3 separate regions of the Homo sapiens genome follow, and all the other regions are linked to region 3. The links are contacts of gene promoters, found by promoter capture Hi-C in blood cells and fetal thymus (Javierre and others, 2016). All regions are on one chromosome and are shown on one strand. Each heading gives the region's core, a stretch centred on a gene start or on the middle of the fragment in contact. The rest is flanking DNA. Distances are from core to core; before and after follow the strand shown.

Region 1 (3,220 bases), core at 518-3,017, 1.1 Mb after region 3:
GTTGTATTACAGTATTTTACAGTCGTACTAAGGAAGATTATTATCTCCAGACTATTCTACACTCCAGGAAAAGACTAAGGAGGCTGTCTGATGCTGGCTGGGAATCAATCCTAGGATTGAGGAAAGAGTAAGACTACAGGTGAGTTTTTGTTTGTGTGTATGTGTGTGTGTGCTTGTGTTTAATTCCACCACTTCTGGAGATTAACAACCTAAACTTTAGAGAGTTGGTTCAGCAAATAGAGAGTGAAAAGGGTTCATTAAATGTCAAGCATGGGCAGTGTGCCTTCCATTGCCTTGCTGGTACCGGAGACACCACCCAAACTCAGTGGCCAGCTGTTCTGCCACCCCTGGGATAAAAAAACTACACACTACTGTAAGTATAAATGTTACCCTACTCCTTTATTTTTCTTCCCTTGAGGTTTTAAGGATAACTTCAGAATGAAGAAAATAAAGTTCAATCAATTAATTTAAAATATTTTTTAGAAGAAACCGTTCCAACCCTATAGGTTCTAGGCCTAATATAATAACTCTGAAATAGAATAGAAGGCTGTTATTTCCCCCAGAGGCTGTTACATTTGTCTCCCAAAGAGCTTGGTTCTTCTATATGCTAATGAAATGTTTGGGGCTTGTCTCCTTCAAAAGAAAAAAAAAGTAAATGTTATTTTTCCCCACAAAGTCTTTTACCTTCACCACCAGAGAGGGGCTGCTGGTTACTTGCTTCTGAAAGTGGCTGTCTAGCTCGCTTAGCATGAGTCATAGACCTTGGAGCTGCTGTGGGCCTCTCAGCCATTTTTCTCTGAAGATTCTCTCGCCTGGCACGGGTTCGCTCCAGCAGTTTCTACATAAATAAATATATCAGTGTTAAAACACAAGTTTAATCAAAGGTTCATAAAATTGCAGTATCTTCTAAAATCACCAATTGCCATACAGGATGACAGTTAAACACATTTCAAAAGTGAAATCCTAAGCAATTATGTCAAGATTCACTAAATGAGTACCCCAATGTCATAACTATTACAGGAATATTACAGAAGGAATAAAATATGTAAAGTTAGTTATATAAGATTTTTAACGGCCACAAATTTTTTCTGCTTTCATCAAAAGACAGAATCTATTTCTTCACCCTTGAATCTGGGCTGGCCTTGTGATCTGCTTTGACCAATAAAATATGGTACAAGTGATATTGTGAGACTTTTAGGCATCAAGAGATTTTACAGTTTGGGGTCTCTCTCTCTCTCTGCCACTAAGTGAACATGCCCAGGTTAAGTCTACTAGAGGAGACACATGGCCCAGGTGATGGTCAGTATCAACTACCAAACATATGAATAAGGCCACCTTAGACCATCCAGCTCCAGATAATCTGCCAGATCACTGAAGATTCCTGCATGACCACTGCAGAGACAAGCAGAAGAACAGCCCGGCTGAGCACAATACAAATTGTTGACCCACTGAATCATGAGAAATAAGAGTATTGTTTTAAGCCACTATGGTAGGCAAAATAATGGTCCCTCAAAGATTTTTTGTCCTAATACCCTAAACCTCTGAATATGTTGCCTTACAGAGCAAAAGAGACTTTACTGATGTGATTAAGAATCTTTAGATGGAGATAATCCTGAATTATCTGGTCAGGCCCAACATAATCACAAAGGTCCTTATGATGGAAAACACAGAGGCAGGAAGATCAGAGTCAGGGAAAATATGACCATGGAAGCAGAGGTCAGAGTAATGTGATTTTTGGCTTTGAAGATGGGGGAACAGGACAAGCCAAGAAATACAGATGGCCTTTAGAAACAAGAAAAGTTAGGAAACAGATTCTCCCCTACAGCCTCCAGAAGAAACACAATTCCACTGACATGTTGATTTTAACACAGTAAAATCCATTTCAGATTTCAGAGTGAGACCCTGTCTCTAAAGAACTGTAAAATAATGAATATGTTATTTTAGGCCACTAAATTTGTGATAACTTGTTACAGCAGCAAAACTAATAGAGCCACTAAAATCTGGGGTGGTGGTAAGCAGCAAGAGATAAATAACATATTAGTCCTTTGAAAACATAAAACACTTCCTAAGAGGAAAGAAAAACAAAATAATCTTATGTTTTATTTAACTAAATATTAACATATAATAAAATGGTTTTAAATTGAAATCTTAGCCATTCCATAAAGTCATGAATACTCCTTTCTACTCCAAATCAACTGATGTTCCTATTTTTAAGTCAATTTTAGTAAAGCTCAAACACAAGACCCTGTAAAACAATTCATTTTCTTTCAAATGCACACAACTAAAGGAGGTATGCAGATTATTATTACTGCCTTGCATACTCAGATACAGTAGTTAGTGCAGGCTGAAAAATTAAATTCCATTTGACTCTTTTTAATTCCTTAAAATACAGTAACAATTTTTTAAAAATCTGAGTATGTAAAAGAAATATGAGCTAAATTTGAAAGAAGGCACACTCTCTACTCTTCTTAAGAATGATTTCTAATTTAAAGTTCATTGAAAAAAGTGACACTAAATTGAAATGCTCTAATCACTGAAAAAATAATTTATGAACCAAATGGCTTCCAAAATACAAGACCTTCACCCGCTAAATAAAAGTCCTTCAACAAATTCAAGAATAAGCATATTGTTTCACAAATCCATATATGTCCGATAATTTCCCCCCATGATACAATATGAGAACTAAAAATAAAATACTAATCCTCCCAACCAACTGAACAGATCCCCTCTTGATGAAGGGGACCCCAGAGAAACCTTAAAAACCGAGTTCTCAGCCATGATGGAACAGGAGGCCGCATGCACCTTGTTATACCCCTCCTTTTGCTGTTTAAACACAATAACTGATGAGCATTAATGTTAAATAGAGATCATAAGACTGACAGAAGACTCTTTGTAGCAATAAGATATCAAATTATAAACAGGATCAAGCCTAGGCAACAAAGCAAGATCCTGTCTCTGCAAAACATACAAAAGTTAGCCAGGCATGGTGGGGCACATCTGTAGTCCCAGCTACCTGGGGGGTGGGGTGGCTGAAGCAAAAGGATTACTTCAGCCCAGGAGTTCAAGGCTGCAGTGAGCTGTGATCGCTACTGCACTCCAGCCTGGGTAACAGAGTGAGACCCTGTCTGTAAACAAATAACTAGGACCTAAGGCCATGCCAGGCAAGGGTTAAGTCACAAACTCCCTACACTTAAAAAATAAACTATCTTCTAACTGCCAA
Region 2 (3,149 bases), core at 580-3,079, 1.1 Mb after region 3:
AACTAAAAATCACAATTGGGCAGGGGTGAGGGGTAGGGCAACATCTCCTTCTCCATGAGAATCAATGCCTTGAAGAAAAATATAGATTCTGTCACAGTGCACATTATTTCATTGAGAAATCACATAGATTAAAATTATTTTCCCAAACCATAACAATCATTGTAGAGATACAAATAAATTAATATTAGTATTAGAAAGTAGATACTATGATCAATTAGTCATGCAGAGTGATCTCTTGATATGTCAACATGTTGAGTTAGAAGTTTGAGAAGAGATACTTTAGAAAGTAGTAGACCCACTCCTCTTGTCTCATTTCCCTTCCTATAATTTAGTGGCAGTACATTTATGAATCCAACCCTGTATGTTTGCAAACCCTGAGGTAGACAATTTGGCAGTGAATTTCTATAGTACAATAAAGTTCAAATAGCCATTTGAGACCATGCAAGCCTCTAATTTACAATTCCTTTAAAAATAACTGGGTCATTTTTCAGACTACTTTCTCTCTTAAATATACTTAACTGCTTGAAATAATTCTAGAGCCCTGTGCCCAGCATTTCACTGCGATATCAGAAAAACCCAGTTTGGACAGCCAGAAACTTCATGTAGAGAGTTAAGCTGAAAACATGCCCTCCTCTCCCCTGGTCATTCCCTCACGATTCATTGATATCTGAGATGGCCATGTTCTTCTTTCTGGTTAGCAGAACTTGATTGTGGTAAGAGTACTGATGGAAATGTGTTCATTTTTTTTTCAGCTCTAAAAGTCGTTACAAATATAGAACAGACTCATTTTATATTTCAGGAATGAAGCAATTACTTGTTTCTGAAATCCTTCCTATATAATATCTTACCCACTTTTGACTTATTAGTATATGCTATCTATGCTGTTTAAAAATGGAATCAAATCAGAAAAGGTTTTTTTGACTTCTCATGGCCTTTTAAAGAAGAAGGTTCTGAGGCTGGGTGCAGTGGCTCACACTTGTAATCCCAGCAGTTTGTGAGGCGGAGAGCAGGCGGATTACCTGAGCTCAGGAGTTCAAGACCAGCCTGGGCAACACGGCAAAACCTTATCTCTACAAAAAATTAAAAAATTAGCCGGGCATGATGGCCTGCGCCTGTAGTCCCAGCTACTTGGAAGGCTGAGGCAGGAGTATCACTTGAGCGCCCAGGCGGCAGAGGTTGCAGTGAGTCAGGATTGCCACTGCACTCCAGCCTTGGCCACAGAGTGAGACCCTGTCACAAAAAAAAAAAAAAGAAGAAGAAGATTCTACTTTAGCTTCCGGGATTTAAAAAAAAAAAAAGGGTTTATTATACCAAAGCCACTAAAATCTTGATTCTAAAATATAGATTAATTACCTTATTAACATGAAATTTGCCTTGGAATTCAAATTTAATGATTCAGAATATTTCCCTATGTACATTTTTCCATGCGGTGTTTCTATAGGAGCTGAATATAATATTTAATGTGATACTAATAATAGTTAACAAAGGCTGCTTACCTATAGTCCAGCACTGTTCTCAGCACTTCACACATATTCACTTTTAAAATCCTTACAATAATACTATGAAGTATGCATTATTATTATCCCATTTTACAGATAAGGAAACTGTAGCACAAAGAAGTTATGTAACTTGGTCAGGGTAATAGCTATTAATAAACAGAGCCAAGATTCATACCAGACAACTCCATTCCAAAGTCCATGTTGTCAACTGCTAGGAAAATCAGCTCACTATTATAGTGACTGTACACTGATTTGAGCCACAAAATCCAACATCAAGATTTCATGTAATATCAGTGTGACATTATCCGATGGTTTGCTCAACTGTTGGTTTTTAGATTTTTAATCACAGGCAAGTATGTAATAATTTTTACCTGGGAAAATCATATTTCACTTGAATAAAAATTTGTTGTTTTCAAAATAGAACGCATCTAGTTCATTCATTAACAAAATGCTGTGAGAAACCATATAAGATTATGTTCATTTATGATTGCCTATCGGCTTTATTTTGTATGTGATATAAGGAGAGATTAATGAGTCATTCCAGAAATGAAGTGTCTTTATATCAAAGATGAATGTTTAAAAATACTGGAAATGAAAGTCTTAAGGCCATCGTTAGGCCATACAGGTTGAATATACCTAGGCACATAGCTCCTGTTTGTCCTACAGCAGCAGGTACCTACCATGTTGTCTTCAACATCACTAATTGTTTCATTTTTCTTTTACCTTCCTGGGATAATTTTTTCCTCAACCGTCAGGCAACTAAGTCTTTTACCCTTTCTTTCCTCTCAAATATTCTCTTCCCTTGTCTACCTCTCTGGCCCCCCTTTCATAAGCAGGACAGTGAATAAGCAAAACCAAACACAGATGTATGTTGTAAAAGAGCTTATAATTTCATTGTTGACGAAGTCTGTCATACAACAAATATAAACCTGCAACCATGATAAAGTACTTCGAAGAAGAGATACAAGGTGTTATGAGGGTCTAAAATGAAAAAGTTAAGGAAGGCTTCCTGACCAAGTGCTATTTGAACTGAAAGATGAGTGGATATTAATCTAACAAAGAGAGGGATAGAAGGGCCCAGCAGACACAGGGAGCAGCATGTGAAGAAGTATGTTCGGAGAGAGCATAGTGAGTATGAGATATGGTCAAAGTGAGAGAAGGCTGGAGTGGAGAAATTGAGGAACACAGTGTGAGGTGAGGCTGCAGAGGCAGAAGGATCTGACCAAGAGTGACCTCATAGACCATGGTTAGGAGTTTTGTCCATCCCAAGGGAAAGCCATGGGAAAGTTTGTTTCTGGCACATTTAGTGTTATTTTAGATGATGTATAATGCTCACTCTTACCACAACCATCACCATCAAGGGTATCTAGACTACTCTGTATTTCTAACTGTAAAAACAACAAACACACAAGTTTCTGACCCCAAAACAACAGTGTCCCATTATAAGTTACTAATAGAGCAGCACTGAATTGCTCTTACCTGGGGCTGTGAAATTTTTAAGAATCCTAAAGTACAGTCAAGTTTCTGAATTCCTGAATGACATTAGCAGTGCCTTTCGTCTCATTTTCATACAGTCGATAAACTACATTGGTTGCTATTGAATTTAGAGATACTATAGTTAATAGATTATCTGTTATAGTGCAGACAAAT
Region 3 (3,059 bases), core at 140-2,639:
AGGCACTCTTGATACTAATACTGCCTCCCAGAGTCATGCGTATAATAAGGAGTTAGATCAGAGCTGTTCATTAAAAGTATAAGGTGAGCCACTAATGAGAGCCTATGTGTAGCCTTACATTTTCTAGTAGCTACATCAGAAAATGTAAAAAGAAACTGGTGAAATTAATCTTATATATGCTTATATCTTAACCCAACACATGACGAATCCAACTGACTTACTACATCAGACTATTCTCATGTATTGCAATAATGTAATCAACATAAACATACTTAACAAGTTAGTTTACATTCATTTTAAAAATACTGAATTGTATGTCTGTTTTACACTTACAGAACATCTCAGGGATAGCCACATTTCAAGTGCTCAACAGCTGCCTGTGGCTCTTGAGGGGGAAGATCTTAAAAGGGAGCTTAGTTTTCCACCTTGATTCTGATGCCTCCCTGCCCCCGACTTATTTCCTTTGCCAATTAGAAGAAAATGCCGAACTGCCTTTGACTTTTCCGGTAGAGCCAATGTAGGTATTTCTGAACTGGGGGAGGACAGGTGGTTCGCCTGCAACCCTCTTCCCTCCTGCCAGCTAGGCTGGGAGTTAACGTTTTTGATTTCTGCTTTGAAAATGATTTAAGTAGGTTGCATGAATTAAGTAATTTATTCTAAATATCAAATTATGGGTGGAACGTCTTGCCTTATGCAAAGTTATGCAAAATTAGGAAGTCCCTGGCTTAATTGGTTAGAAATACATCTTGTAGTTTCAATTGCAGGGTTAGTAAATACATAGATGTCGACGGAGAGGGAGGAAACTTTTTTTTTTTTTTTTTGCCACTCTGTCCAAGGGTAGAGGCACAGCGTCAAAACAAACACGTCTTAAAGTAGCGTTCAAACAGCCCACCGAAGTTTCCCCTTAATATCCGGAACCGGTTGCCAAAAATTAAAAAAGGATGTGAAAAGATGCTACTCGCTTTTGGCCTCCCGGAGATGGCGCTATGAGGGTGACGGAGTTAATTAGTGCCTCCAAACGCCGTGTGTGAGCTCATCGAAGTCATGCTCTGCACACATATTATTTATAGCAGATCTGAGGCATGCATGGTGTTTGACATTTCTGTCTTTTAAGTAGGGGGACTTCAAAAAGTCGTGGGCATCCCCCTAGGCAAAGTGCAGTGGGCAGGGACCAGGCAGGGTGCGGGCGCAAGGCGAACGCGCAGACCACGAGTGTCCTGGCGCAGGTGCCGGGGGCGGCGGCTGCAACTCCGCAGCGTCCGCTCGGGAGGAGAGTTCGCGGCTGATCTCCGGATGCCTTGCAGATGCAAAATGTGTCTCTGGCCAGCAGGAGGAAGGAAGAGGAAGTGAGAGCAGCGGCAGCCGGCGGTGCAGCAGCCGGCCGACCCAGAGTGTAAGTGCGTGTGCTGGGGCGAGCGGGAGCGGGCGAGGATGGGCACAGGATAGAGGCAGAGCCACCCACGCCGCCGCGGCCCCACGCTGGGCGACAGAGCCTCCAGTTCCCCTTCAATGGTGGCGGGTCGCCGGAGCTCTGATCGCCGGGAACCCTTGCCGCTGCTGTCCTGCGACCCCAAGCAGGTTCGTAAAGTTTCCTGGGCTGGCGCCGCGCCCCGACTCGCTGACCTCGGCGCGGCAGGGGAGGGGGCCGGGACTGGGGCCGGGAGGAGGCGTCCTGCTCCGGGGGACTCCGGGCGCCGCGGAGACACTTTTGTTTCCTCCCTGGGGGCGCCGCGGCTCGGGCGGGGGTGGCCGCCGCGCTCGGCAGGGTGAGGGCTGCGGGCGCGTCGGGGCGCTCTGCAGTTGGGGAAGTCTGAGCTCCGGGGATGGCGGGAGTGGGAGTGGGAGCGGAGGGAGGGGGCGCTGGAGGTGCGGCGCCCGCGGATGAAGCGCAGGGCCCGGGGCCCGGGAGCCCGCCGAGACATTTCGACCAGGGTCTGCGGGAGGGGGGGCGCGGGAGGGTTGCGACGCTGGCGCGGGGTTACTGGGGACGGGGGATGTGGGGCTGGGATCTTGGAGTCAAGATTCCTATAGAGCTAGAGAAGCGGCTGCGGCTCAGACTCGGCGTCTTCTCCTGCACTCGGGGATGGGAGGGAATCCCCCGGCGAGCGCGCTCGTGGGAGGGGGCGGTGATGGGCCAGAGGAATGGGGGCCAGGAGGGCCGGAGAGGGCGGTCTGGGCAGCCGGGAGCCCCTGAGGTTCTGGTTAGTAAATACTCTCCTCCCGGGGACACACCGGGGTCTCCGCCGAGACCGAGAGAGGCGGCGGGGAGCTTTGTGGAGCTTCGTGGAAATCTCGGCTTCGGAGAGGGGACGCACCGGGCGCGCCTTCAGAGAAGGGGGCGGCGGCATGCCAGGGGGCCCGGGAATCGGAGCGGAGAGTGGCGACTGCGATCGCCGGAGTCGCTTTGAGGAAGAGGAAATACAGAACTCAGCTGTCCCGGGGGTGCGCGCGTGTGTTTGGGGTTGGGAAGTCGGTGCTGTGCCGCGAGCGCGCGCGAGGCGGCGTGTGTGTGTGTGTGTGTGTGTGTGTGTGTGTGTGGTGTGTGCGCGCGCGCGTATGTATGTGTGTGTGGTGTGTCGTCGGTGTGTGTGTGAGTGTGTGTGTGTGGGGGGGGTGTTGTGGGTGTGTGTGTGAGTCGGTGTGTGTGTGTGTGACCGCACAGCCAGGAACTCCCCGCCCAGTGACCCTCTCCCGCCTAGGGGGCCATTTGAAGTTGGAGGCGGGTCGGGACCTGCCTTGACCTAAAGGACCAGCCTCAGGCTTGGTCCCAGGTAGTGACCCAGCTCTGAGAGTCCCTGGACGGCTCCCGAGACTCAGTGAATATATTTGGGATGCCCCCCGCGCTGGATCATGGGCTTCCCAACACCGCTGGCCTTGAATGATTCGGGCCTAATTCGTTATGGTTAAGATTTCAGATAATCTAAGACGGGTTGAGGCCTCCAGAAGCGGAGGCTTCCTGTTGGGCGCTGCCAGTGACTTGGGGATGAAGCTATGGAAGAATATCTGAGTGTTTCTCTTTTGCTTCTATAAAAGTAATTAATGACCTGTATTTACACACC

The links. The method cuts DNA at HindIII sites, captures the fragments that hold promoters and counts their contacts. A CHiCAGO score of 5 or more calls a contact.
Region 1: a fragment that was not itself captured here is called in contact with the fragment with the promoter of ELMO1 in region 3 in 4 of 17 cell types (naive CD8 T cells, total CD8 T cells, total CD4 T cells and 1 more); the score reaches 7.2 in naive CD8 T cells.
Region 2: a contact is called between a fragment that was not itself captured here and the fragment with the promoter of ELMO1 in region 3, in 3 of 17 cell types (total CD8 T cells, total CD4 T cells and fetal thymus). The highest score is 6.0, in total CD8 T cells.

The regions. Positions count from the first base shown.
Region 1 is chr7:36,393,884-36,397,103 of GRCh38, reverse strand. ANLN (anillin, actin binding protein) reads right to left here. Exons shown (of 24, transcript NM_018685.5): 2 at 685-838. Among named protein-coding and RNA genes, the nearest start is that of ANLN, 5.6 kb to the right of the region's middle. The HindIII fragment of the contact is 5,776 bases long and covers 1-3,220 here.
Region 2 is chr7:36,362,194-36,365,342 of GRCh38, reverse strand. The region is part of intron 1 of MATCAP2 (microtubule associated tyrosine carboxypeptidase 2); the gene reads left to right. Among named protein-coding and RNA genes, the nearest start is that of MATCAP2, 3.5 kb to the left of the region's middle. The HindIII fragment of the contact is 6,130 bases long and covers 1-3,149 here.
Region 3 is chr7:37,447,194-37,450,252 of GRCh38, reverse strand. It overlaps ELMO1 (engulfment and cell motility 1), which reads left to right and starts at 1,389. Exons shown (of 22, transcript NM_014800.11): 1 at 1,389-1,578. RefSeq lists silencers at 1,640-1,689, 1,700-1,749. The HindIII fragment of the contact is 5,071 bases long and covers 1-3,059 here.